Regions from separate parts of the Homo sapiens genome. Here region 1 is linked to region 2. The links are contacts of gene promoters, found by promoter capture Hi-C in human tissues and cell types (Jung and others, 2019). All regions are on one chromosome and are shown on one strand. Each heading gives the region's core, a stretch centred on a gene start or on the middle of the fragment in contact. The rest is flanking DNA. Distances are from core to core; before and after follow the strand shown. Region 1 overlaps PKNOX2 (PBX/knotted 1 homeobox 2). Region 2 holds the start of ROBO3 (roundabout guidance receptor 3).

What was found. Contacts are between HindIII fragments. The study calls those that stand out against the background at their distance.
Region 1: a fragment that was not itself captured here is called in contact with the fragment with the promoter of ROBO3 in region 2 in 1 of the 25 tissues and cell types used here (IMR-90 fibroblasts).

Annotation. Positions count from the first base shown.
Region 1 is chr11:125,392,671-125,399,168 of GRCh38, reverse strand. It overlaps PKNOX2 (PBX/knotted 1 homeobox 2), which reads right to left. Exons shown (of 13, transcript NM_001382323.2): 7 at 1,107-1,295. Among named protein-coding and RNA genes, the nearest start is that of FEZ1, 100 kb to the left of the region's middle. The HindIII fragment of the contact is 3,747 bases long and covers 425-4,171 here.
Region 2 is chr11:124,861,404-124,867,859 of GRCh38, reverse strand. It overlaps ROBO3 (roundabout guidance receptor 3), which reads right to left and starts at 2,428. Exons shown (of 28, transcript NM_022370.4): 1 at 2,123-2,428. The coding sequence starts at 2,282. RefSeq lists enhancers at 1,436-2,112, 4,452-4,953. The HindIII fragment of the contact is 19,013 bases long and covers 1-6,456 here.

The DNA of each region.
Region 1 (6,498 bases), core at 1,049-3,548, 530 kb before region 2:
GGAGTCTCACAAAGAGCCCACTGGGGTGGGTTGGATGTGATACCGAGTGTATCTTTTGTGCTTGTTGTCAAAATGTGCAAAGCAAGGCTGGCCTTCTAGAAGTCAGCCTGTCCCCTCCCCTGACTCCACCAATCTGGGGAGATAGAGTACATGGGTGGTTCCTTAGGGGTCTAGGGACAAAAACGGCACAGCCTTTCTTTGGCACTACTTCCAGCACCTCTCGGCACTCACTCCTAGAAAGTTTACCTGCATCCCCATGCCTGATTGTTTAATGAGAAGAGGCTACAGAGGACTCCTTGGGGACCCTCCAGGTGTCTTCCAGGACTCAGGAGCTCAGTGGAAGGGGAACAAAGTCTCAAGCCTGTGGCTTATGCAGATGTCTGTGAGTTGGGCGGGAAGGTATTGCCAGGCAGCTTTCTCGGTTTGTAGGTTTGGGGAAAATATCCTGCCCTGGAGGGGAAACCCCATCTTGCCCAAAGCGTGTAGTCAGCATTTCTGCATTTCCCAGGTCTCAGGAAGGAGGTGGCAGGGGAACCTGGGAACAGGGTGGTTTGAGGTGACCTTGACCATGGCCCTGAACCTTAGGGGGACAGAGATGCCAGAGTAGCGTGAGTGCCTGGAGAATGATTAGGGAGCAGCAGGCCCATGGGAAGCTGGCTTCACCCATTAGGTGGGCAGGATTCAGGGAATGACTGCTTTCCCCAAATGCCCTTTCCCAGAAATGCAGATGGCTCAGCAAGCCGCAGCCTCTTAAGAAGCCTGTCCCAGCTCATCCTCCAGGAGAGCTTTCCTTCTCCTTAGCTCTGGTGCTCATTCTGGGGGATACCTTGGGCCAGGAAGCCAGGAATGATTTTGGACATTGTCCCTCTCCGATCTGGTCATTTTCAAGGGAATACTAATGCCCTGGCAGGGCAGACTGTGTGTAAAAAAGGGATGGGATGGCCTAATGGATATGAAGAAGAGTGCATCAGAGGAGGGCCCTCATGGCAAAGGAACCCAGTGGGTCTAACCCAGTGAAGGTCACCAGGGGACCTTCCTCCACGCGTGGCTCCAGAGCTGGGCTTAGGAGCCTGGCTTAAGAGATGGGACCCAGCTCTGGGTGTTACCTGTGAGTGAAGGTTGATGGAGGGCTGGTTGGGGGAGTAGGGCCCCCCTAGATCATTCCTGAGCAGGTTGTCGCTGTGCATCTTGGTTTTGAGGCAGGTGATGTAACGGTTACAAAAGTCCTTGCAGAGTTCATTGACTTTCTCCAGCTCCAGCAGGTGGATTCTCAGGACCTGGATTGCCTTCACCATCTGTGGAGAGGGAGGAGAGGTGAGCCCAGGTGTTTGCATCCCATTTCCCTCACTGCCTGGACCCCCAGCCCCCACCACCCCAGGGGAGGGGAGCCCACCCCCTGCCGTAGCTCATGCTTCCTACACTTGATCTTGGCCAAAAGGCCCAGAAGTGGTAGGCGGTGCCTTCTCATCCCCATGACTTCAGTTCTAATGATGGCTCTCTGCTAATTATTCCTTTGCTCTGAGCCCTCTGTTATCACAGCTGTTCTTGAGGCAGTTGTGGTATTCTGAGAACAGCATTGGCCTTAGCGATGGGAGGCCAGGTCCAAGCCCCCGGCCTGTCATTTACTATCTGTGTGAGCTTGGGCAAGTTGCTCAAGCTCTCTGTGCCTTAGTGGCTAACAAATGGGGATAATTAGATTCTCCCTGACAACTTTACAGGTTTGTTGTGAGTATTGTATGAGGGCGTATACATGGTAGCACATTGTGAGGTGTGAAGGACCAGGCAAGCCTGAGGAAGATGGAGATCAGAATTTCTTATAAGTGCCTCTAGAGCTCAGGGACTGTCTATTCTTAAACAAGCATTCTGAGTGCCTCATGGGATACCGGTTACCTTGTGGACGCTCTGTGGATACTTGCTGATGGACTGAATAATCCAGCATGACTTAGCTGGGCACCAGCTACCTCACTGTCTGCTGTGGCCTTTTCCATGCCCTTTGGATTGCTGTACGGGAGCCTGCTGCCTCTTCAAATGGACATTCCTAACCTTTTCGTGGCAAGAAGCTATTTTGCAATTGAAGCTTTGCTCTTTACTGCTGTTATTATCATAAAAAGAAAATACTATGGAAGGTATGGAAAGCAGGGTGAAAAAAACCTGTCTTCGATCCAATCGCCTTAAAGAATGATTTTTTCCTACACCCATATATTTTAACATAGTTTCAATAACCTTGTGCATGCAATTTTGTTTTCTGTTTTTTCCCTCTAGTTTAGCAAATCTATTTTTCTAAGTGCCAGAATTGTTTTCTCTATCCTCTCTTCTAGACTATGAGCTTTGAGAAGGCAGGGATGATGTCTAATTTGCTCACCATGTTATCTTCAGCACGAACACATATGGATATGGAGTAAACATTTGCTGAATGGGTGAAAGTTATTGAGTAAACATATTTTTAAATGTTGCATATTATTTCATGTGTGTGCCATACTTAACCAGTCTCCTATTGTTAGGTATTTAGATTACTTCCAATTTTTCAATTTTATAAAAAATGTTACAGTGAATATTTTCTAAGCTTATAGCTTTTTTTTTTTTTTTTTAAAAGTTTCTGCATTATTCTTTAGGATGAATTCCCAGAAGTGACAGGAAAAAAAGCTATGAACGTTCTTGTGGATTATGATAAATATTGCCAAATTGCTTTTCAACAGGGGGTTGTTCAAATGGTGCTAGAATAATTAGACATCCACATGCAAAAAAACTGAATCTTGATTTAAACCTCATACCTTAGATGAGATTAACTCAAAATGGATCAAAGACATAAATGTAAGACAGAAAACTATAAACCTCTTAAAAAAAAACAGGAAAAAATCTTCAGGATCTAGGGTGAGGCAAAGAGATCTTAGAGTTGACACCAAAAGCATGATCCAGGCTGGGCACAGTGGCTCACGCCTGTAATCCCAGCACTTTGGGACATCGAGGCAGGAGGATCACTTGAGGTCAGGAGTTTGAGACCAGCCTGGCCAACATGGTGAAACCCCATATCTACTAAAATTACAAAAATTAGCCAGTGGTGGTTGTGCATGCCTGAAGTCCCAGCTACTTGGGAGGCTGAGGCAGGAGAATCGCTTGAACCCAGGAGGTGGACGTTACAGTGAGCCGAGATGGAGCCACTGCACTCCAGCTTGGGCGACAGAGCGCAACTCCATCTAAAAAAAAAAAAAAAAAAAGATGATCCAGTGAGGAACTGGACGCTGTCAAAATTAAAAATGTTTACTCTTCAAAAGACCCTGTGAAGAAGAGGAAAAGACTACATACTGGAGGAGAATATTTGCAAACCAAGTACCTGACAAAGGACTTGTATCTAGGATATATAAAGAACTCTCAAAACAAAACAGTAAAATAACAAGCAACCCAATTAGAACATGGTCATAAGACATGATTAGACATTTCACTGAAGAGGATATACAGATGGCAAATAAGCACAAGAGAAGATATTCAATGTCATTAGTCACTAGGGAAATGCAAATTAAAACCACAATGAGATATCACTACACACCTATTGGTATGGTTAAAATAAAAGAAATAAATATGACAACACCAAATGCTGGTGAGGAACTGGAGACTAGAACACTCAGACATTGCTGTTAAGAGTGTAAAATGGTACAGCCACTCTGGAAAACAGTATGACAATTTCTTACAAAACTAAATATGTGCGTACCATATGACCCAGCAATTGTACTCTTGGGCATTTATCCCAGAGAAATAAAAACATATGTTCTTACAAAAACCTGTATACAAATTGTTCAAAGCAGCTTTACTTCTAATAGTCAAAAATCGGAAACAACCCAAATGTACTTCAATGGGTGAATGGATAAAGAAACTGTAATTCATCCATATCATGGAATATAACTCAGCAATAAAAAAGAATGAGCTATTGATATGCCCAACAATGTGGATAGATTGCAAGGGAATTTTCCTGAGAGACAAAAGCCAGTCTCAAAGGATTATATACTATATGATGCCATTTACAAAACGTTTTTGAAATGACAAAATTATAGAGATGGAAGACAGAAAGACAGATTAGTGGTTGACAGCGGTAGAGTGGAGGAGGGAGGGAGGAACTGTTCTGTACTTTGCTATAACAATGTTTATGTGGATCTAAGTATATGATAAAATTGCACAGAACTAATTACATGTACACACACACACACACACACACACGAGGGCACGTAAAACTGGTGAAATCTGAATACAGTTGGTGGATTGTTCCTGGCTGTGAAATTGTGCTATGGTTATACAAGATGTGAATCAGGAGCTCTCTGTATGAGTTCTTATAACTGCATGTGAATCTACATTTATATCAAAATTAAATGTAACCGCTAGGAGCGGGTGATGCTTATTGCTTTTCCAGATCCATTTATGTTGACGCAAGCAATATATGGGATCTCTTTTTAGTCCCACCCTCCTAGCTTTTGGCTAGCTCCTGGATGCCTAGAGGAGAGTTTGGACAATATAAAAAGGGATGGAAACAAGGAAGGAAATCTCTCCCAGAGAATTGTGACTGTGAGGTGTGTGTAGAGAAGTGTGGCTTGAAGCCAGCATTACACCCTTCTCTGAGCCTCATTGGCATTTCAAGTGGGGAGCCCACATTCCCTGGGCTGGGCTTGTGGCTTGTCTGATGAGCAGGGATTGTGCTCAACTAATTAAGGGTTTTTGGAGTACTAAATTAGACCAAGTGTCACTCAAAGACAGAAAGCAGCGATTGTGTGTCGTCATGCAGGGCTCAGTCACAAGGTCTCCTCCTAAGAAGTACCACCTCTGTGGGGCTGAGACTGAGGGAGACTGAGCCATCCTAAGCAAAGAGGAAAATTGTGACTTTAGAATGGATCATTTGGACCCCAAAGTGGAGTTAAGTACTTAATAAAGATTTGTTCTTGCCTAATGTTCTACTTGACTTTGGCCACGAACATCTTGGTCTATGTCTCTCAGTGTAATGAGCACAGGATAAGGTACTTAACACATATGCGTTGCTGGATTGTTAATAATACCCAAACGTTTCTTATTCAGACTGTGTCTCAGGCACTGTGTTAAGCCCATTCCAGGCCTTATTTATTCCACACAACCATCTCATTAAGTAGGTACCATTATTGCTCATATTTTGCATTTGAAGAAAATAAAATCCAAAAATATTACGTTTCCTTGCTTAGAGTCACACAACTGGTGAGCGATATGAAGCCAGGTTGCCCCACCCCCCACCCGTGTGCCTTGTCTTTCAATATGGACTCTCAGGATTATGTAGGTAGAGGAAGTGGTAGTATAAAGGGTGCGTGGTTTGGGAGAAAGTGGCTCAGTGACAGCAAGTACGGGGTTCTAGGAAGCCAAGTAGCTTTTGAGACATCAAAGTTTAGGATTTCCAGAACCCTTCCTGGTAATGTGCCTTTTCTCAGCTGCTCTGATCTCCCATCTCTCACTCCTGGCACAGCCCCCCGGGGTCCAAACACCTCACCAACACAGGTGCCTGCTTCTCCATGTGCACACGGAGAGGGCTGGACTGTCAGGTCCCTTACGTTTTCTGACTCTCTGAACATTACCAGGACTTCTGCCCTCAATTCACGCCTGATGGTGTTAGAATGAACCCCACACGGTGACCTGGACCAGCCTCTAGGTGGCTGCACAGTCCAAACTCATCAGGACACAGGCTGCATCTTCTCCTCCAGCCTCTCCCGGTCACTGGGCGATGACCTTGTTGCCTCGGACCTTCTCCATATTCTCTCAGTCTGCTGATTAGAAGCTTTTCCTTATATTCAATCAAAATCTCTCCCGCCTTAATGTAAAGTGCCTTCTGTAGGCACCAAGAACATCGAGGAACTTCTAGGACCTCTATCAACACAACTTCTTTTTAATTTAATTTTATTCATTCAACAAGTATTGAGTCTTACTATATGCCACATATTGGACCAGGCATCTGACTTGAACAAGTTGTTCAATTAACTTTCTCTTCTCTCTTTTTTTTTTTTTTTTTGAGACGAGTCTTGCTCTGTCGCCCAGGCTGGAGTGCAGTGGCGCGATCTCGACTCACTGCAAGCTCCACCTCCTGGTTCACGCCATTCTCCTGCCTCAGCCTCCCAAGCAGCTGGGACCACGCCCGCCACCACGCCGGGCTAATTTTTTTTTTTATGTATTTTTAGTAGAGACAGGGTTTCACTGTGTTTCCCAGGATAGTCTCGATCTCCTGACCTCATGATCCGCCCACCTTGGCCTCCCAAAGTGCTGGGATTACAGGCGTGAGCCACCGCGCCCGGCCAAACTTTCTCTTTTCTAGACAAAAACGATCGTCATTCCTTAAACCTTTCTTCTCTTTCCCTTCCCCGTTCCTTCTTTCCTCCCTCCTTTCTTTCCTTTTTTCCTTCTTTCTCACACACATACATATATTCACACATACACAGAGAAAAGTGCACTTACCTATTCATTTATTTTAAATATATAACCAATTTATACTTACTTTATAAA
Region 2 (6,456 bases), core at 1,179-3,678:
TTTAATAACCTGCTGTAAAATAACCAGGGACCACTTCAAGCATCTGTTCTGCCCCCTGCCCCCTCCCCCTGTTCCCCCCTTCCTACCCTGTTCCAAAATCTGCAGGAACCTCCCGCTTCCAGCCCGCCTGTGAGATTGGGTTTCATTTCCTGCCCCCCCTCTTAGAAGTTCTGTTGTAGACAAAGCTGGACAGGCTGACCCGTGCTGGCGCTGTTCTGAGTTTATTTTAATTGCCTGGAGTCAAGAAGATCGATTTCTGTCCCACTTGGGAGAGTAATTTTCTCCATCTCCTCCCTTCCAAATGGAAATCTCTGCTTTTCACCCTTCTCTTCTCCTCCATCTCCTCCCATTCCCAATTTTGGAACACCCCGTGGTGAGCAACACTGGAGTGATTGAGAGCAAGTGTTGCTGTTGAACCAACCAGGGCTGGAATCTCAGACTTTGACGCTTCCTAGCTGTAAGAACTTGGGCAAATTATTTAACTTCTCTCAGTCTCAGTTTCTTTCTTTGTGATGTGAGAGCAGTGATAGGGTTGCTCTAAGACCATAATGTATGTAAAGCCCTTGGGGGATAAACGTCACTACTCTGCCATTATTTAAGGGCTTGTGTTCCCAGCATATGCACCTTATCTTGGCTCCTACAGTCTCTACCTGAATCAAATTCTACCAGGCCCCAATATTCTTTTTTCCCCTTGGTATAGCCCTCAGGTGTAATGGAAATGGACTGATCTGTTATCGCTAGGTTTTGCTTCATGCTGCTTTTGTGACGATTAGGGCACCATTCACTCTATAAAGCGTTTTCTCGGCGGCAAAATGTGTCTGTCAACACCTTCCTTGCATACCTCACTAAGTTTCGAGCTTAGATGAGACAAAGTATGGTGAAAACACTCTGTAAACGCGCTAGGTGAGCAGAAGCGGGACTCTGCGGGGTGCCAGCGAGAAGGGATCTGTGCTTAACCTCCTGGAAATCTAGGAGGGTCAAGAGGTTGGAGAATCGGGCTCCTCCCCCATCGTCTTTCTCCCCAATCCTTCTATACGGACCACACCCTTCTGGTCGGCCTTTTCCCCCTAATTCCTGTAGACACAGCTGCAGGCGCCCTTTCCCTGGAATTTCCCCCTCTACCCTTCCCGGTCTCAGGAGATGCTTCGACTGCAGCCTAATGAATAGCTAATGGCCATGCTAATGAGGCTCTGGGGCTCCTCCCTCAGCACCTGATGTGCCCCACACATGAACACACACATATTGCCAGGGTCTCCTTTCTCTCCACCTTCGAGTCCCCAGCACAGTGCTCGTCACTAGACTCGAGTGGGTCGAGGCAGAGGGATGGGGACCGCGTGCACCTGGAGGGAACCACACGCGAAAGCGCCCGGTAAAGCGGGGGTTCCCGATGCGGCAGGCAGGGGGCGCGCTCCGGCCTCTCCGCAGGCTGGCGGCGGCCGGCTCCCGCAGCTTCCCCGCGGCGCTAGGGGAGAGCGCGCTGTCCCAGTCATTTATTAATCACCGTAATTAGCGGTAACGACCTCGCCGCCAGCTCCGCCCGCCCGCCACAGCTCTGCCGGGGTGGGCCGGCTGAGAGTCCCGCCGCTGAAAGACAAACTTCTAAGTTTCCTTAAAATGATCGCCGCCCCTATCCCCTCCGTAGCAAACACATCCAGCATTTTGGCTTCCTCTGGTCCTAAGTGAGTTCTTGGGAAACTTCGGGGTTCCGAAGACCAGCTGCCTGGGTGGGTCACCGAGTGACCTGGCTTGGCCGAGGCCGGCGGGAGACTGTGCCCCCTCCTCTGCCCTCCCTGCGCTGGGCCCGGGCCTTTCTTAGCTCGGACTTCCCTGCCCGTTACCAGCAACGGTTCTTCTCACCTGGGGTGGGCGTTGTAGGGGAAGGGAAGGAGGTGTAAAAAGACTCAGTAGCCATCTTCTCCCAAGCCCTCGACCTCCCGCGGGTACCCCCACTCATGTGCTCGAAGCTCCAAATTATCCCTTAGACCCCACGACCCAGGGAGGCGCTGGGAGGCGCCACTCAATCCCGGACCTCGGGACAGGAGCGCTTCTCCTTCCCTTCCACGCCGCCCTCTCACCTCATCCCCATCCCAGGATCCCATATCCCCAAGAGGCAGGGTCTCACCGTTGAGAGAGGGATCGCCGGGAGGCAGCAGGGTGTGGTTGAGCGCCGCCAGCGAGGAGTTGAAGCCCAAGAGCAGCTCGCTGGAGTTGGAGATGTCCCCGGCCAGAGAGTCCGCGAACAAGTTCATCTGCAGCAGCGTTTTCAGCAGGTAGCGCAGCATGGCTCGACCCAGCTGGGATCGGGACTGGGGGCTGGGGGCCCAGCCCCTGGGTCTGAGACCCGTGGGCTGGGAGCCGTAAGCCCCTCCACAGCCTCTGCGCGCTGCGGCAGCCACGGTGCCGCTCTCCTGCCGGTGCGCCTGGGTACGGTCGGTGCCTCTTCGTGCCCTCCTCCTTCCCTCGTCCTTCTCTCCACCCCCTAGTGCCGGAGTCCCCTGGGAGCTGGGCAGGCGGAAAGCAGGTGCCACGCCGATCACGGCGTAATTAAGGGATTAATCCGCCTCCCTCCACCCTCCCACCCTTACCTCTACAGTCACTATCCGAGCAGGAGACACGAGTAGCGTAGCGCGCGAGTTGGAGTCCCCGCCCCGCACCCCAAGCCCAGCGTTCCGTTCTGGACGCGGCGAGAGATTTTCCCTGTCTCAAAGCACCCAAGATGAGGGACGAGGCTCTGTCGGACTCTGCCCTTCTGCCCAACTTTAGAACAGGAATCTGTCCTCTCTTTTCCCGAACCTTTTGGAAACTGAGGCAAAGCGCAAGCAATGCTCCTTGCTGCCAAAGTTCTGGTTTCCATTCCCTCCCAAGTCTAGGGGTTTGGCGACGGAAGGGCAGGAGACTGGGGTGGTTTGCAGCAAGAGTTGGGAGTAGGCAGAGAATTCCAAGACAGGTCCACCTCTCTGCCCTCTGGTCCTTTGGTCTGCAGCCAGGAGGCCAGAGGATGGAGCGGCGCGCCCTGACCCGGGAGTCCTGCTCCAAACGCCCTAATCTAGGAGTTCCTGTAGGAGACTGAAAGCCAGGGAAACCCAGGCAACTGTCATTTATTTGAATCCTTTTACATTACCCTGCTTTGACATTTTTTATTAAATTGTTTTACGTTTTTGAGGAGACTGAAATGGAACCAAGGATTCTAGGACAAAAACAAAGATAATATTATTTTTGTAAAGGCATGTGGGATTGCTGCAAAATTAGTGCAAATCTGTTCAAATCGGATAGCAGTCGTCCTTCCTGGGGGGGGCGAAAAGAAAACCATGGGCCCCTACTCCCACCTCCCACTTCCAGTCGCGGTCTGCTTCTGACTTTTCTGGAGTTCTTTCTACCTGAAGACCCACCTCGACAAACTCACTTTCCTAGACAGGAGATGGCTTTGGGGTATCAGGGAAAGAGAGAGGCCGGGGCATTCCTAACCTGAGGTAAGGCCCTGCTGATTGAAGAGTCAGTGCCAGAGTTCTGGCTCAGCCGTCAGGTTCTGGGATGAGACAACTTTCATGGGGCGACTGCTTCTGACCCCAAAGGGGTCGAGATCAGAGGGGTGGGTGCTATACAGTCGCAGACTCTGGAGTAAGCAGAATCAAGAATTGAAATATTTCAGGCAGAGCTTGTTCAAGGGAACCCGAGACATTGTCAAGGGGTGGGGGGCTTGTTCCAAGCCTCCTTCCTCAGTCCAGGCGCCTGGCTGTGAGCCTCCAACTATGGGTGTTTAGGTGCCTTCCAACCCTAGCAGTTCTGGGCGGGACGTAGAAAGGCTGGAAGCACTAGGTGTGGGGGAGGGGGTAGGTGGGAGTGGGGGTGGGGCCGGATGGACCCCCCACCCCACCGCCACGCAGCGCCCTGGGAGCTGTCCTTTTCAGCACCTCATCTGCAGGTGCCTGACTAGGGCCCTGGAGCCCCCAGGGAAGACATAAATCCGAGCAGACCCTGAGGCTGAGGACTGGGGTAGGTGGGAGACGGGCTAGAGACACATCCTTTCAAAAGCAAGAAGATAATAAGAGATTTGACGCCCCTCCCTTCCTCGCTCCAGGGTGGTATTCAGATAAGAGAGAAAGTAAGGGATGTATTTCCCACCCGAAATCTATCCTTCAGGAATGACCAACACAGAAGTGGGTTCTAATTCTACGTTTGCCAAGTACAAGACGTCACCGCTTTGGATCTCAGTTTTCCCATCTGTTAAGGAGGAATTGGAGTGCTTGATCTACTCTGACCTGTGAGATTCGAGGCTCCGGGGCCCTTTGCTCCGCCCCCTGCTGACCGCGGTCACCTGGGTTCCATCACAGCAGAGGCTGAATCGGGATAGAAACCCCACGTCCTGGTACCAGGCCCTACTCTGGGGCGGAGGGGGCCAGAAACCCTCCCACCATGCGGCTCCTGCCCGGTCCTAATGCCCTGATTTGCTCCCGGCTGGCCTCTCCGCAAACACAGGGCCTGCCAGCGTCTAGGGGCTTGTCACCCTGTTAGCGGATTTGTTCCCGGAGACGGCGCAGTTAATTGGCCCTTTATGTGGGGATCAGGGCGTATTTGCTCAGGGTTCCCTGAGCGGAGGCGCGGCTCAACCCGTGAGCAAGGCTGCTTCACAGTCCCTGTCACGTGGGTTTGGAGGCTGGACAAATAGCCGGGCCACTCTACTTTCCAGGAATCTGCTGTCTCTCCTACACTTCACCTCGTCTGGGCTCTCTCTAATTTTCACTCTCCACTTTTTCTTGTTTCTCTCTGCTCTTTCCTTCTTTGTACTTCTCTTTATCTTGATGATACTCTCCTTTTAAACCAAACTCAGATCTAAGCCAAGAGGGCTGAGTTCTCCCAACTGGGGATATCAGAGAATAAATACCTCCCAACCATAACCTAAGTTCCCTCCCTTTTCCTTCCCATTCTCTAGTGTCCTTACGGCCCTGGGCTAGGCAGAGTGGAGCAGAGAGTGGGCAGAGAAGGCCCAGCAGAAGTCACACCTCCCAGCTCTTCTGCAGCCCTCTCCCCACCTTCTCTTCTTTACTGAGGGTCAGACAGGCAGCCTAGAAACTGGCCCTGCCCCTGTCCACATCCAGCTTCTCTCCTGGCTACCCCCATAGGCAGTTCTGAAAGGGGTTTGCCTCCTACTAGTCTCCTCACTGCCTGCTCTGCTCTCTGAAAATTACCAAGACAACTCTTTGTCCTTTTTCTGGAGTGGGTATGCAACTCTTTGCAACTATGTCCATTTCCTAATTTGTCAACTGTAAGTGCCTGTACAGCACCTAAAACACTGAGTAGATGCCCTGCAATTGGAGGAGCCTCAGCCGGGGTGCATTCATTCTGTTGACTTATAAATTTCCACCTTGGGCTGGAGAAAGAGTCAGAGTTGGGTTTAGAGACCCTCTCTTCTACCACCTCAGGAAACTACTTCTTTCCCAGAGTTTTACCAACAATATGTACAGTCCAGACTTTAGAAAGGGTAAGAAAAAGAAACAGAGGTTTTGAAGGAGATTTGGCAGAAAGAAGAGAGAGTAGCAGGAAGCAGGGAGGTTGGGGCGAGTTGAATTTGTAGAGTTAGGAGCTAAGTTTGTTCTGATAAGGTTACAGCATCTGATGGGAAGAAGTGTGTGTGTGTGTGTGTGTTTGCGTGTGTGTGCATGTGTGGGTTCACAGGTAGAGCCCTAGAAAAGAGCCCTGGGCCAGGAGTTGATGAGGTAATATAGAAGAGGAATATTTCTTTCCTATGGTGGTATTTTGGGTGGGTGGATTTGCAGAGGAACATGGGAAATGGGAAGGGCAAGTGATTATGAGTAAGGCAGGAACCCTACACAAGAGTGGTGTTTTGGGAATCATGAGCCTCTAAAGGAACTCTCCATCCCACCCCCCACTGGTGTGTGAGTGTGTGTGTGTGTGTTCACGTGCTAGGGGAGAGAACAGCTACCCCAGGCTAACTTTCTTGGCCTAGTGCCAGCATATCGGCCAGAGAATGTGGCTGGGAATTTTCAGTGGCCAAGCTGGGGCCATATGGGGAGGCTTCTTGGTGGTCTAAAGCCTGCATGCCGGCTGGTAGTGGATGAAGCTGCTGGCATGTAATTGCCCAGGAGTGCAGTCTGAAGACAACCCCCCATTACTACCACTGCCTCCCCCCAATGTACACACACACTGTCCGGTCCATTTGCATCCCCCCAGAGCCTGTAGCCTGCCATCACTCTCTGCCTGGACCCCTTCCCAGGACATTAATACATATTGAGTGTGAGATTGTGTGTGTGTGTGTGTGTGTGTGTGTGTGTGTGTGTTTGCTGGGAGGGGGACAAAGAAATAACATCTGCCCCTTACCCCCACTAGGGTATGCCTGTGAATGGCCCAGCAGGGCTGCTGGCTTCAGAGTGATGATGCCAGGGGGCAGCGACCCAGCCAGCAGGGGCCAGAGAACCAAACAGGAGGGGGAATCAGAGA